4 separate regions of the Homo sapiens genome follow, and all the other regions are linked to region 1. The links are contacts of gene promoters, found by promoter capture Hi-C in blood cells and fetal thymus (Javierre and others, 2016). All regions are on one chromosome and are shown on one strand. The core of a region is centred on a gene start or on the middle of the fragment in contact, and the rest is flanking DNA. Distances in the headings are between cores, read along the strand shown. Region 1 holds the start of PDZK1IP1 (PDZK1 interacting protein 1). Region 2 overlaps CMPK1 (cytidine/uridine monophosphate kinase 1). Region 3 overlaps CMPK1 (cytidine/uridine monophosphate kinase 1). Region 4 holds the start of FOXE3 (forkhead box E3).

Evidence for each region. The method cuts DNA at HindIII sites, captures the fragments that hold promoters and counts their contacts. A CHiCAGO score of 5 or more calls a contact.
Region 2: a contact is called between a fragment that was not itself captured here and the fragment with the promoter of PDZK1IP1 in region 1, in 2 of 17 cell types (megakaryocytes and erythroblasts). The highest score is 9.4, in megakaryocytes.
Region 3: a fragment that was not itself captured here is called in contact with the fragment with the promoter of PDZK1IP1 in region 1 in 1 of 17 cell types (endothelial precursors); the score reaches 5.2 in endothelial precursors.
Region 4: a contact is called between the fragment with the promoter of FOXE3 here and the fragment with the promoter of PDZK1IP1 in region 1, in 7 of 17 cell types (total CD4 T cells, activated CD4 T cells, endothelial precursors and 4 more). The highest score is 7.5, in total CD4 T cells.

What each region holds. Positions count from the first base shown.
Region 1 is chr1:47,188,349-47,191,738 of GRCh38, forward strand. PDZK1IP1 (PDZK1 interacting protein 1) reads right to left here and starts at 1,688. Exons shown (of 4, transcript NM_005764.4): 1 at 1,518-1,688. The coding sequence starts at 1,584. RefSeq lists a silencer at 1,969-2,263 and an enhancer at 3,093-3,390. The HindIII fragment of the contact is 10,710 bases long and covers 1-3,390 here.
Region 2 is chr1:47,337,145-47,340,247 of GRCh38, forward strand. All of the region lies in intron 1 of CMPK1 (cytidine/uridine monophosphate kinase 1), which reads left to right. Among named protein-coding and RNA genes, the nearest start is that of CMPK1, 4.9 kb to the left of the region's middle. The HindIII fragment of the contact is 166 bases long and covers 1,694-1,859 here.
Region 3 is chr1:47,363,940-47,367,238 of GRCh38, forward strand. The region is part of intron 1 of CMPK1 (cytidine/uridine monophosphate kinase 1); the gene reads left to right. Among named protein-coding and RNA genes, the nearest start is that of CMPK1, 32 kb to the left of the region's middle. The HindIII fragment of the contact is 4,857 bases long and covers 1-3,299 here.
Region 4 is chr1:47,414,704-47,417,815 of GRCh38, forward strand. It overlaps FOXE3 (forkhead box E3), which reads left to right and starts at 1,582. Exons shown (of 1, transcript NM_012186.3): 1 at 1,582-3,112. The coding sequence starts at 1,613. The coding sequence ends at 2,572. The region is part of intron 1 of LINC01389 (long intergenic non-protein coding RNA 1389); the gene reads right to left. The HindIII fragment of the contact is 18,012 bases long and covers 1-3,112 here.

The DNA of each region.
Region 1 (3,390 bases), core at 438-2,937:
GATTTTCCTGAAGTCCCTGCCTTCAGGCCTCTGCTTCCCCAAAGGACTTTCCTCTTCCCCAGCATCACTGCACTCCATGAGCCTGCAGGAGCTCAGCCTTGTAGAGAAAAGACCCTCAGCGGGGAGAAGTCCCAGGACAAAACACAGGTCAGCAGGGGGCTTCAGAGGGGTCCTGCCTCCAGGCCAGAATATACCTGCATCCCTATATTTTGAGGGACCCAAGCTGGACATGAGAAAACCTTCCTCTGGCTCACTCCTGCTCAAATGTCCTCCTTTGAGTCTACCAAAAGCTCTCCTGCTGCAGTGGAGGCCTGACCTCTTCTCCGAGCCTGGCAAATATTGGGAAGGAGGAAGGAGGCTAGGAACTCTCTGGCCTGTAGTGAGGTCAGACCTCACTTATCTCCAGGGGAAGCAGAAGACACACAGTGTGATTACCCTCAGTTCCACACCTGCCAAAAAGCAGTATTTGGGAGTCATTGTTTCCCTAGGGGTTCAGACTGCTCCCTCAGGTCAGTGGTTGCTCAAGCATGGGGAGTTAGGGCTCAACCCTTGGAGGCCCCTCCCTGTTTCCTCCTAGACCCTGCAGCCAATTCTCTCCAGTCACCCCAGGGACCACAGTCCCTGCTCCTCCTCCCATGCACATACAGCAAGGGGCAGTGTCTGGGGCAGGAGAAAGGTGGTCTGAACCCTGTCCTTTCTTGCCGTGCTCTGTGACTCAACCTCTCTGGTCTGCAGTTCCCCAGAGGGCTTCCAAGACCTGGGAGACAGAGTTGAAGCAGACACACATAAGAGCTCGGGGTGGGGGTGGGAGGGGAGCTCTGAAAGCATCTTTGCCAGTCCCCTCTGGACCAAGTCCCACCTGCAGAGTCCCCAGACTTTGGCTGCAGATGCAGCCTGACAGTGTAGAATGAAAGCCAGACCTTGGGTTAGTTACTTCACCAGGTGCAAAGCCCTTCTTCACCTCTGACCTGGCAGCAGCCCTGGGAGGTGGGCAGGGTGGGGTTTATTGTTCTCATTTTATAGGTGAGAAAACTGAGTCTCAGGAAGGGGCAGTGATTTGCTCAAGGTCACACATCCATTCAGGCAGAGCAGGACGAAGAGGTCAGATATTTGGGGGAGTCACACTGGGCACTGTTCTCTATCCAAGCCCAAGAGGCCGAGACAAAGCCCAAGTCTTTGAGGGGTGGCTTGGGCCCCACTCTCACCCTACTTGTACCCCCGGGTCCCCTGTACTCAGGACCCAGCCATCCCTTGGGCAATGCCTGCTCTTGGGGCTTGGGCCTCAAATCCTGTTCCTCCCTGAGATCCTAGAACCAACTGCTGCCAGTTTTCACTCGTTGAAAACAAGTGACAGGCAGAGACTTGGTTCAGAGGTCTCTGCCTTGGGACATTCTTTCAGCTAGCGCAGTCCCTGCTCCCCCTCCAAACTGTAAGTATCAAGGCCCTGGGGAGGGGAGCCAGAACACCACCTGTCCACCCCTGGGTCTCCCGTGCCCAGCCCTCTCCTCCTGAGCTACCTTGCTGACAGCTGGCAGGTGGCACTGCCGTGAGCAGGCCCAGAATGAGGAGGCTGAGGGCCGACATGGCTGCAGCAGCTCCTAGCCTTGCTTCTGGCCGCCGGTGTCTGGGCTCCTGGAGCTGCTGTGGAGTCTATTGGTGTCCGCCTGAAATCAACCTGGGCTCAGTCTGGCCCTGGAGGAGAGGAGCTAGGAAGGAGGAAGGCGAGGGAGGGAGGAGACACGAAGACGGGCGTCGGAGAGAACGTGCCCTCCCTCCCATGGTAATGAGCTGCCAGACCTGGCCTCCCCTGGCTGGTGCCCAGCTCACTTGGGCTGGCATTCGAGGTCATCTTCCAGGGGCCAGCTAAGGAGGTGGGTATGAGGAACAAGCAGATGTGGGAGAGTCCCAGCCTCACCTCCATGCCCTGAGCTCCCTTTTCCTGGCAGTGGGGCTGGATTCTAGGGAAAGGGGTGACACACAGTCGCTCCTGCCTTGACTGAGCCCAGTGGGCGGGGCTTCTTGGAAGGCTGACAGTGGGATTAAGAAATGTCCTGGCTGGCTCAGGAGCCTGGGGAAAACCCCAGAAGCCCAGAGAAGGCTCAAAGCTGCCAGACTCCGCCGAGAGCCTGGCCTATTTCCTGTTCTCCCCACCACCTGCCCCTGCCCCGCCAAGCTAAACTCTGGGACTCTAATGCTGGGACACACTACGGCTTCAGTGCCTTCCACGCCCTGGCCCAGCCCAGTAGCTTCCTAAATCCACCCCCTTCTGCAAAGATCTCAATAGAGGGCCTGAAGGTCCCAGTCCCCAGCTTTCACAGCCCATGCCCAGGCCCTGACCCAGCACAGCTAACCTAGTCCCAGTTCGGTTCTTCCTCTTGGCCCCAGATGTGGTCCCTGGAAACCGGGCAGGGCCTCAAAACAAGATACAGCCTTGGTCAGAGGCTTCAACACCCAACTTCAGATCCATCTCCACCCATGGCAGAGGAGAAAATGGGCAAACACAGCCTGCTGTGGGGGACAAAGGACGGACACCCCAGATGGCAAGGTGCGATCTGGGGCCCTGAAGCCCTGGGCCCGTCACCCTCATAGCCAAAAGCAGCATTGAGGAAGGCACACCTAGCCCCTGGAACAGGGAGGCCCTGGAGCCAGAGCCCTCGGAAGAGGCAAAAGCCTCCCCAGGATCACGTGGTGTCCACCTGGCCCTCCAGCTCAGGGAATGAGAATGGCCAGAGTTCCTGTGCAAGCCCCTGACCAAGGGTCATGCTGGTCTCCTTGCCCCACCCCCCACCCCAGAAGTATGGGAAGCTGAGATGCTGACTCCCTAGAAAGGAGCGGGCCAACTGGAACAAAGTCTCATCAGAGATGGAAGGTCCCCAGGAGCCAGCACCTGAGCTGAAGGCACCTCCACAGCCTCTCTTCCCTGAAGCCACCAAACTCCTATTCATCAGGCCTCCTGGGCAACCCTTCCTATGGCAGGTTGATTCTGCCTTCCTGCTCCAGCGGGAGCACTCAGACATCATGCCTCAGGCCTGCTTCCTGTGTGTGTGTGTGTGTGTGTGTGTGTGTGTGTGTGTGTGTGTGTGTGTGGTGTGTGTGGGTGTGTGTGTGTGTGTTCACATGCGTGTGCAGTCGGGCCCATTGCCATCCAAAGATGGAGTGTCTCAAGGTGATCTGGGAGAACTTTGCTTGGAGTTGAGTGATGCCTCCCAAACATGTATATCCTGGCCTCCCTCCCACACCCAACTTGGTGTCCTCAGAATCTTCTAACACAGACTGGAGTAAGCACTGTGCATGTTAATGAACAGCCAGAGAATCACTGATTGGAATGTAAGGAATGGGGCTGAATTTAACAAACATCTACTGGTGCCTTCTCCAAGAATTTTAGGGAGG
Region 2 (3,103 bases), core at 527-3,026, 150 kb after region 1:
TGGTGGCAGGCGCCTGTAGTCCCAGCTACTTGGGAGGCTGAGGCAGGAGAATGGCATGAACCGGGGAGGCGGAGCTTGCAGTGAGCCAAGATCACGCCACTGCAGTGCAGCCTGGGTGACATAGCGAGATTCCATCTCAAAAAAATAAAATAAATAAATAAATAAATACATAAATGAAATAATCTACACATTCTGCAATTATTCTTTATTCTGTTCAGTAATGGCAAATAATATTTTAAACTTGTTAATTATCAGTTACAAGATTCCATGATGAGATATGTTCTGTAATGTATTATATTATTAAGATTTCAACAATTATTTGACCTTAAACTGTTATCTTCTTTAATGAAAAGTATTCTCTTGAGTCTAGTTGCCATAAACTTTATTAAGCTGTCAATCAACTAATTCCAAATAGTTTATAATTTAGCAATTGCTATTCCCTAGCTGGCTAGACAGACACTGGAATATCTATTTTTTTTTTTTTTTTGAGACGAAGTGTCACGCTGTCGGCCAGGCTGGTGTGCAGTGGGGCAATCTTGGCTCGCTGCAGCCTCCATCTTCTGGATTCAAGCGATTCTCTGCCTCAGCCTCCCGAGTAGCTTGGACTACAGGTGCGCGCCACCATGCCCGGCTAATTTTTGTATTTTTAGTAGAGACGGGGTTTCACTATGTTGGCCAGGCTGGTCTCGAACTCCTGACCTCGTGATCCACCCACCTTGGCCTCCCAAAGTGCTGGGATTACAGGTGTGAGCCACTGTGCCCGGCCTGGAATATCTATTGTTAGTGAAGTCAGCGGTATGTTGTTTTTTTCCTTTGTGAATCTCTTTATTTTGACTCAATATTTTTTTATACAGGCAATTATAAACTAAATTCCAAAATAATGTAAGTTTTGGAGGTTTTTTTCCTGTAGGAAAAAAATTACATAAATCCACGGTAAATTCTCCAATTAATCTGGCTGAAGCTAATGCAGCTCACAGGGCACCTGAAATTGTTACTTTAGTATGTTGATTTCCAACTCAGGCTGCCAGAAGTACATATTTGAGTCCTAGCTACAGAATCTTCAGTTGACAGGAAGAGAAGAAAAAGAGAAAACCAAAAACCCTTAGGGATATCTTGCTCTCTAAGGCACTGAAATTAGTGAAGTGGGTATTGTTAGAGGGAAGCTGGTATTTTTTCTCTGGAGGTGAATTCTGCTCTGCAAATTGCTCCTGGAGACCTAGAGAAGGTAAAGGCAAATCTGATACAGTGTCTTCTGAGAGTGTTCTGTACTGGGAAGGAAAGATTGGAGGGAGGTTTTGGGATTGATTTTGCACATTTATTTGTACTGATGTTTTTCAGTTTTGTTTGCTTTTCTCCTTCCTTCCTTCCTTCCCTCCCTCCCTCCCTCTCTCCTTCCCTCCCTCCCTCTCTCCTTCCCTCCCTCCCTCTCTCCTTCCCTCCCTCCCTCCTTCCTGTTCTTTCTTTTTCTTCTTTTCTTTTTTTTTTACCAAATACCCAGACTTGGAGAATTTGTTTTATTTTCTAATTGTTTGTAAATCTGTATCCTCTAATACTGAATTTGTTTTTGAAAATGAGCTATTTTCTAAATCAGTGTGATACTTAGAGTTAAGTTTCCAGAATGGAATTATTGTGCAATAATTTAGTTATAAAATCATGATGGGAATACTGTGTCATTCTTGAATTTTTAAAATTAAGCTTTATTTATATTTGTTGTTTTGGCCCAAATGAAATTATGTCAATGTAACCTAAATTTATATTTGAAAATAACCACCATTTTACATGCATTAGTTGGAAGAAATATTTAAACCTCTCTTTTAAAGATTGTGAACATTTTGCTTACATAAACAAATTATGACTAAAGCTTATAACCATGCCAAATTGCTTTCTGTAGCACCCAGAAAACTTTTTTTTTTTTTTTTGAGAGAGGGTCTCACTCTGTTGCCCAGGCTGAAGTACAGTGGTGTGACCTCAGCTCACTGCAACCTCCGCCTCCTGGGTTCAAGAGATTCTCCTGCCTCAGCCTCCCAAGTAGCTGGGACTACAGACACATGCCACCATGAATGCCATGTTGGCCAGGCTGGTCTCGAACTTCTGACCTCAGGTGATCCACCTGCCTCAGCTTCCTAAAGTACTGAGATTACAGGCATGAGCCTTTGCGCCTGGCCTCACCCAAGAAGCATTTTATCATCTGTGTCAACTTCCTCCAGGGCCTGTGTGGGTAACTCTTACTTTGCCTGGCCATCCTACTTACTGCACTTAGAAAAAGTTTTGGATGATAATTGACTTTAAGCATATATAAATCAGAAACTTGATTTCATTTATCTTTGTGTCCCCAGTGTTGAACATTGTGCCTGACACATAGTAACTGCTTATTAAGCACTTATTGAATTATAAGTTGAATACGTTGGATTCATAGAGTTTATTGTTTGTCCTGAAGATGTAAAATTTTTAAAAATTCGATCCCCAGAGGGCGCTCCAGTGGCAGTTGGCTCTCCCATTTTAAGGACCAGAAGTGTTTGAATGTCTTCCTCTGATTTCTTTTTCTTTCTTCCTTTCCTTTTTTTTTTTTTTTTTTTTTTTTAAGACAGAGCCTTACTCTGTCGCCCAGACGGGAGTGCAGTGGCATGATCTCGGCTCACCGCAGCCTCCGCTTCCCGGGTTCAAGCGATTCTCCTCCCTCAGCCTCCTGAGTAGCTGCAATTACAGGCACCCACCACAACGCGTGGCTAATTTTTGTATTTTTAGTAGAGATGGGGTTTCACCATAATGGCCAGGCTGGTCTCAAACTCCTGACTTCAGGTGATCCGCCTGCCTCAGCCTCCCAAAGTGCTGGAATTACAAGCGTGAGCCACCGCATCCGGCTGCCCTCTTCCCTCCCCTCCCCTTCCCTTCCCTCCCCTCCCCTCCCCTCCCCTCCCCTTTCCCTTTCTTTCCTATTTATTTATTTATTTATTTGAGATGAGCTCTCCCTCTGTTGCCCAGGCTGCAGTGCAGTGGCACAATCGTGGCTCATTCTCACTGCAGCCTCCACCTCCCAGGCTCAACTGATCTTTCCACCTCAGCCTCCCAAGTTGCTAGGTCTACAGGTGCATGCCACCATGCC
Region 3 (3,299 bases), core at 134-2,633, 180 kb after region 1:
CTAAAAGGAAAAAAAATGTTTTGAAACAGATAATAGACTTACATAAAGTGTTGCTGGGATGTTGTGGGCTCTAAAGCTGTTGTTTGCAGCAGGTACCAGACTGGTGCATCTGGATGACCTCCCCCCATAGTACCTGCAGCATTTTGGGGTGTTTGGGTGAAGGTGGATTGTTGACAGCACATAACCAGCATTTAGATTTTAAGGATCTGCCTTTAGATATGGGTTCATGGCCAAAAGAAAAAAAAAGATTCTAAGGTTTAGTAGTCTTATGGAGAATGCAACATAACCTTAGTCTTCGATGCTTCATAGATGTAAATCTAAAGGACGCCTAATAGTTTTATATATATATTTTTTGTTTGTTTGTTTTGTTTTGGTTTGGTTTTTTTGTTTGTTTGTTTGAGACAGTCTTGCTCTGTCACCCAGGCTGGCGTGCAGTGGCGCAATCTCAGCTCACTGCAAGCTCCGCCTCCCGGGTTCACGCCATTCTCCTGCCTCAGCCTCCCAAGTAGCAGGACTACAGGCGCCTGCCACCACGCCTGGCTAATTTTTTGTATTTTTAGTAGAGACGGGGGTTTCACCATGTTAGCCAGGATGGTCTTGATCTCCTGACCTGGTGATCCACCCGCCTCAGCCTCCCAAAGTGCTGGGATTATAGGTGTGAGCCACCATGCCCAGCCATATATTTATATTTTTAATATATAATAATATAAATTATATACTATATTACATATAAATTTTATATATTATATGCCATAAGTTATGATATAAATTGTATAATATATAATATATGAAAATGTAATTTATATATTATACATTATGTGAATTTATATATGTTTTGTTTTGTTTTTTAGAGACAGAGTCTTGCTCTGTCTCCCAGGCTGGAGGGCAGTGGCATGATCATAGCTCACTACATCCTGGGCTCAAGTTTTCCTCCTGCCTCAAACTCCTAAGTAGCTGGGACTACAGGTGCACATAGCCTTGCCCAGCAAATGTTTTTATTTTTTGTAGAAACATGTTCACTGTGTTGCGCATGCTGGTCTTGAGCGTCTGACCTCAAGCAATCCTCTCACCTTGGCTTCCCAAAGTGCTAGAATTACAGGTGTGAGCCACTGTACCTGGCCGTACCCAATAGTTTTAATTCACTTCAGTTGCTTTAAAAATACATTTGTATTTAATATCTCTGCTATGTTCCCTCTATAATGCAAGAGAAGCTCAGTAGCAGTTCAGTGGCAATTTCTAATTGCCACATTAATGGGAGGAAGTGCCTGGCATCTGGATCTCTTCCTGCCTTCAAAGACTTGCCATTTGTGCATCATTTGTACCCTGAAGATCTTTTTTTTTTTTTTTGTCTTGTGTTTTCGTTGTTTTCTGAATTTAGGAGAGATGCAGTTGCTAAGAAATGAGATAAGTTAGGCCAGTTGGGATGGCTCATGCCTGTAATCTCAGCACTTTGAGAAGCTGAGGCAGGTGGATTGCTTGAGCCCAGGAGTTTGAGACCAGCCTGGGTAACATGGCAAAACCCCATCTCTACAAAAAGTACAAAAATTAGCTGGATGCAGTGGCATGTACCACTAGTCCCAGCTACTCGGGAGGCTGAGGTGGGAGAATTGCTTAAGCCTAGGAGGTGGAGGTTATAGTGAGCTGAGATCGTGCCACTGCACTCCAATCTGGGTGACAGAGTGAGACCCTGTCTCAAAAAAAAAAAAAAAAAGTGAGAGAAATTGAACAAGATGGTTTGATATTTGACCCCATAAAGTTGTCAACATTTGCCTAGTTGTAGTAAAATAGAGTACCATTTTGTACTTGTTGTGAACATGGTGCTTTTTTCTCCCTCCAAATCTTAGTGCATGATCCGTAAAGGTTATTGAATTGTTTTTCAACTTCTTAAAGGAAAAATTTCAGTTAAAATTTTAGGCACTTATTCTAAATGAATTGAGTTTATATATTTGTCACTAGAAAATTACTATCTTTAGGTCAGGCATGGTGGCTCATGCCTGTAATCCCAGCACTTTGGGAGGCCGAGGTGGGTAGATCACCTGAGGTTAGGAGTTCGAGACCAGCCTGGCCAACATGGTAAAACCCCATCTCTACTGAAAATACAGAAATTAGCCAGGCATGGTGGTGCACGCCTGTAATCCCAGCTGCTTGGGAGGCTGAGGCACGCGAATTGCTTGAACCTGGGAAGCAGAGGTTGCAGTGAGCAGAGATGGTGCTCCAGCCTAGGCGACAGAGCAAGACCCTGTCTGAACAACAACAACAAAAAGCCACGATTTTTAGTTCAATAGTAGCTTGTAATTGTAGTTATAGTATTTGTAAGTTGCTATGGTTTTGAGTGTTGCTTTTAAGACTGTTGTTAGTTACCCACTAAGTTTTAATTGCAAGGAAATTTCAGAGAATGTGAAAAAGTTTTGGTTAAGACTGGAAAATATCTATTCTTGCTTTCCTCAAAACTGGCTTCAGTGATTACTTAATGACAGCAGAATGCTTTGAAAATATGCTCTTTAAAGTCTAGCTGTTACTAAAATACCATAATAACTTATATGTAAGTGATAGTTGCTTTTTTGTTGTTGCTGCAACTGTGGTAAGAGGAAAGCATTATTAGCAAAATCCTTAAGAAAAATATAGTATAAAAAACTGGTAAATAGAGAATTTACAAAAATGGAATGTGGGTGAGAACATGAGACACATGTGTATAGGTTTGACATCTTTATATTCATTTGAATTCTTTGTTTCCTTGGACTTTGCAGGTAAGGTTGTTTTTTCTTTTTGACAAACTGTATAATAATAATAATTATTTTTATTTGAGATGGAGTCTCACTCTGTCACCCAGGCTGGAGTGCAGTGGTGTGATCTTGGCTCACTGCAACTTCTGCTGCCTGAGTTCAAGTGATTCTCCTGCCTCAGCCTCCTGAGTAGCTGGGATTACAGGCACCTGCAACCACACCTGGCTAATTTTTTGTATTTTTAGTAGAGACAGGGTTTCGCCATGTTGGCCAGGCTGGTCTCAAACTCCTGACCTCAGGTGATCCACCCGCCTTGGCCTCCCAAAGTGCTGGGATTATAGGTGTGAGCCACCGCACCCAGCCTTTTTTTCTTTCTTTTAAAAAAAAAGTTTAATAGAGATGAGGTCTGTGTTGCTTAGGCTGGTCTTGAACTCCTGGGCTCAAGCCATCCTTCTGCATCAGCCTCCCAAAGTGCTAGGATTACAAGCATGATCTACCTTGCCCAGCCTGACCATTTCTTCTAATGGAAGGTCCTATATGACAGAGAGACATGGATGATATTAGGATCTTGTTTAT
Region 4 (3,112 bases), core at 332-2,831, 230 kb after region 1:
CTTAACCTCTCAGAACCTTAGTTTCCTCATTTGCAAAACAGGAATAATAACAGTACTCACTTCACGGGGTGCCCAAACTTAAGTGCAATAATGTACATAAAGTGTTTACCAAATACAAAATGCTCAGTAATGGTGGCTGTGATGTCATCAGCTGAGACTGGAGCTGAGAGAGGGGCCCTTGAGCTCCATGCTTTGAGTTTGGATTTTGAACTGGATTTTGAGTTTGGAGTTTACAGGCCTGCTGTAACTAGCTTTGGTCACCTATACCTAGGGACACTCTATAGCATGGCTGGGGGACTAGGATGGGGCAAGTGAGATGCCCCAAATGTAAGGAGGCCCTGGCTCTCAAGTGCTGACTGCACTTGCAAGGCCCTGAGACTGAGCTCCCCTTAAACTCAGCACCTCAGGCACCTCAGTGGGCTCACTGTCCTTCCAGCCCTGCTCCATGTCCAAGTCCCTTGATCTGCCTGTCCCCAGGACAACCCACTTTAAGACAAGGCTCCTTCACCCTGTAGTTCCCTTGGAGCTGGGGATGGGTCTCCTGTCTCTTGGGAGAAGAAGTTTCCCAAAATAGGCTGGGTGCTGCATCCCCCTGGATGCCAGTTGTGGGTGGAACTTCTCAGACTGAGTTTTTAACAAACACTGCCAAAGACCCCCCATCCCCAGTGAGATGTGAGTGTGGTGTTTCTGGGTCAGAAGGCGGCTTTTTCAGACCCCCAGTCTGTGGAAGCCTACATTTTGTACTGTGTGTGTGGGTGTATGTGTGTGTGTGTGTATGTGAAGAAAAGCTGTTTTCTTTAACAGGGGGGTGTGGAGAGGAGGCAGCCAGAAAGGCAGCTCCAAGTTGTGGATTTCCTGGGGGCTCTTCATTTAAAGCGGCCGCACCACTTTCCACAATTCTGTTTTTTCAGAGAATGCTCTCAAGGCCTGGAGGGAGGGCATGACAGGGGTATGGGGGAGGGGGGTGGCAGAGAGGCAAGATGGTGACCCTGATCTGGAGCAGTCAAACATTCTCCCAGAGACAAAACCGGCCTGGCTCTGCCCTGCCCCGCTGCTTCATTACCTTGGCCCAGGTTCCCTAATGTCTGTGAGTGGGCCTGACACCTCCCCATCAGGATACTGAGGGCTGGCAAGGCGGCCTTCATCTCTGTTCCAGCTGGGGATGGAAGGCCAGGAGAAGGATGGGGGGACCGACTACTGGGAGGAGCAAAATGGGGAGGAGCAAAATGGGGAGGGGGCTGGGAGAGTGAATGGGTGGATTTGTGATTGGGAATGATCCAAAGGAGAGGGGGTAGAAGGAGGGGTGGAAAGGGAAGGGGACTGACCAAATACAGTGGGATGGGGCCAGGGGCTGATATAACCGAGATGGGGAAGGGGTGAGTCTGGGTCTGGGAAAAACTGATCCAAAGGCAGAAAGGGAGGGGCGAAATGGAGGAGGGTACCGTGAACAGAGTAAGGGGGCTGGGAGAGGAAATTAGAGGGGAGGCGCTGGCCAGCAGGCAAGGCCTGAGCCCTCTCCCCCGGCGGTGGTTGGGGGGGGGCCGTGTCCATATAAAGCGGGTCGGCGGCCCCTGCGGTCCCGGAGCCGCGCGGGCAGGGGCTGCCGCAGCCGATGGCGGGGCGCAGCGACATGGATCCGCCCGCCGCGTTCTCTGGCTTCCCTGCCCTGCCAGCGGTCGCGCCGTCGGGGCCGCCGCCGTCGCCGCTCGCAGGAGCCGAGCCAGGGCGGGAGCCAGAGGAGGCGGCGGCTGGCCGCGGAGAGGCGGCCCCCACGCCCGCGCCCGGCCCGGGGCGGCGGCGGCGGCGGCCCCTGCAGCGCGGGAAGCCGCCCTACTCGTACATCGCGCTCATCGCCATGGCTCTGGCGCACGCCCCGGGCCGCCGCCTCACGCTGGCCGCCATCTACCGCTTCATCACCGAACGCTTTGCCTTCTACCGCGACAGCCCGCGCAAGTGGCAGAACAGCATCCGCCACAATCTCACGCTCAACGACTGCTTCGTCAAGGTGCCCCGCGAGCCGGGCAACCCGGGCAAGGGCAACTACTGGACGCTGGACCCCGCGGCCGCAGACATGTTCGACAACGGCAGCTTCCTGCGGCGCCGCAAGCGCTTCAAGCGCGCCGAGCTGCCCGCGCACGCGGCCGCGGCGCCAGGGCCGCCGCTCCCCTTCCCCTACGCGCCCTACGCGCCCGCGCCCGGCCCCGCGCTGCTGGTGCCGCCGCCTTCTGCCGGACCGGGCCCCTCGCCGCCCGCGCGTCTGTTCAGCGTCGACAGCCTGGTGAACCTGCAGCCGGAGCTAGCGGGGCTGGGCGCCCCCGAGCCGCCCTGCTGCGCCGCGCCCGACGCCGCAGCCGCAGCCTTCCCGCCCTGCGCTGCCGCCGCCTCCCCGCCACTCTACTCGCAGGTCCCCGACCGCCTGGTACTGCCCGCGACGCGCCCCGGCCCCGGCCCGCTGCCCGCTGAGCCCCTCCTGGCCTTGGCCGGGCCGGCAGCCGCTCTCGGCCCGCTCAGCCCTGGGGAGGCCTACCTGAGGCAGCCGGGCTTCGCGTCGGGGCTGGAGCGCTACCTGTGAGCCTGCGCCGCGCGGGCAGGCACCTGTGCGACCTGTGCCCCGGACCTGCGGCGCCGCCCTCGAGCGCCCCATCTCTACCCCCCACCCTGGCTTGGAGCACACCCTGCGCCTCTCGTCGTGGCCTCCTGGACTCAAACTCCTGCTACATCCTTCTCCGTCCCCCATCCCTGGGGAGGCTCCCACCATCTCGCCACTGGACAGAAGCGTCCCCTTTGACCTGCCAGCCTCTCATTTCTTCTCCCTCCACTTGTGAGCGCCCCCAGCTTTGCGGCGCCCCCCACCCCAGCGCTGTCTGTGGGTCCCTTGCCCCGGAGCTGACTCGCCTCCAGTGAGTCCATACCCCAGGTTTCCTGGTGAGTTCCAAGCCTTTGGAAGCCAGATCTGTGATCCCAAGCCGCCTCCTCCACCGACTGTACTTCATCAACCTTCTCTCATGTTTTTCCGACACTCCTGGGTCAGACTCCTGGGTTCATGACTTACTTGCTAGCGTCCCTTCATTTTCCCACAAGTTTGCCCCCCACCTCCACTTACCTGTCTGCC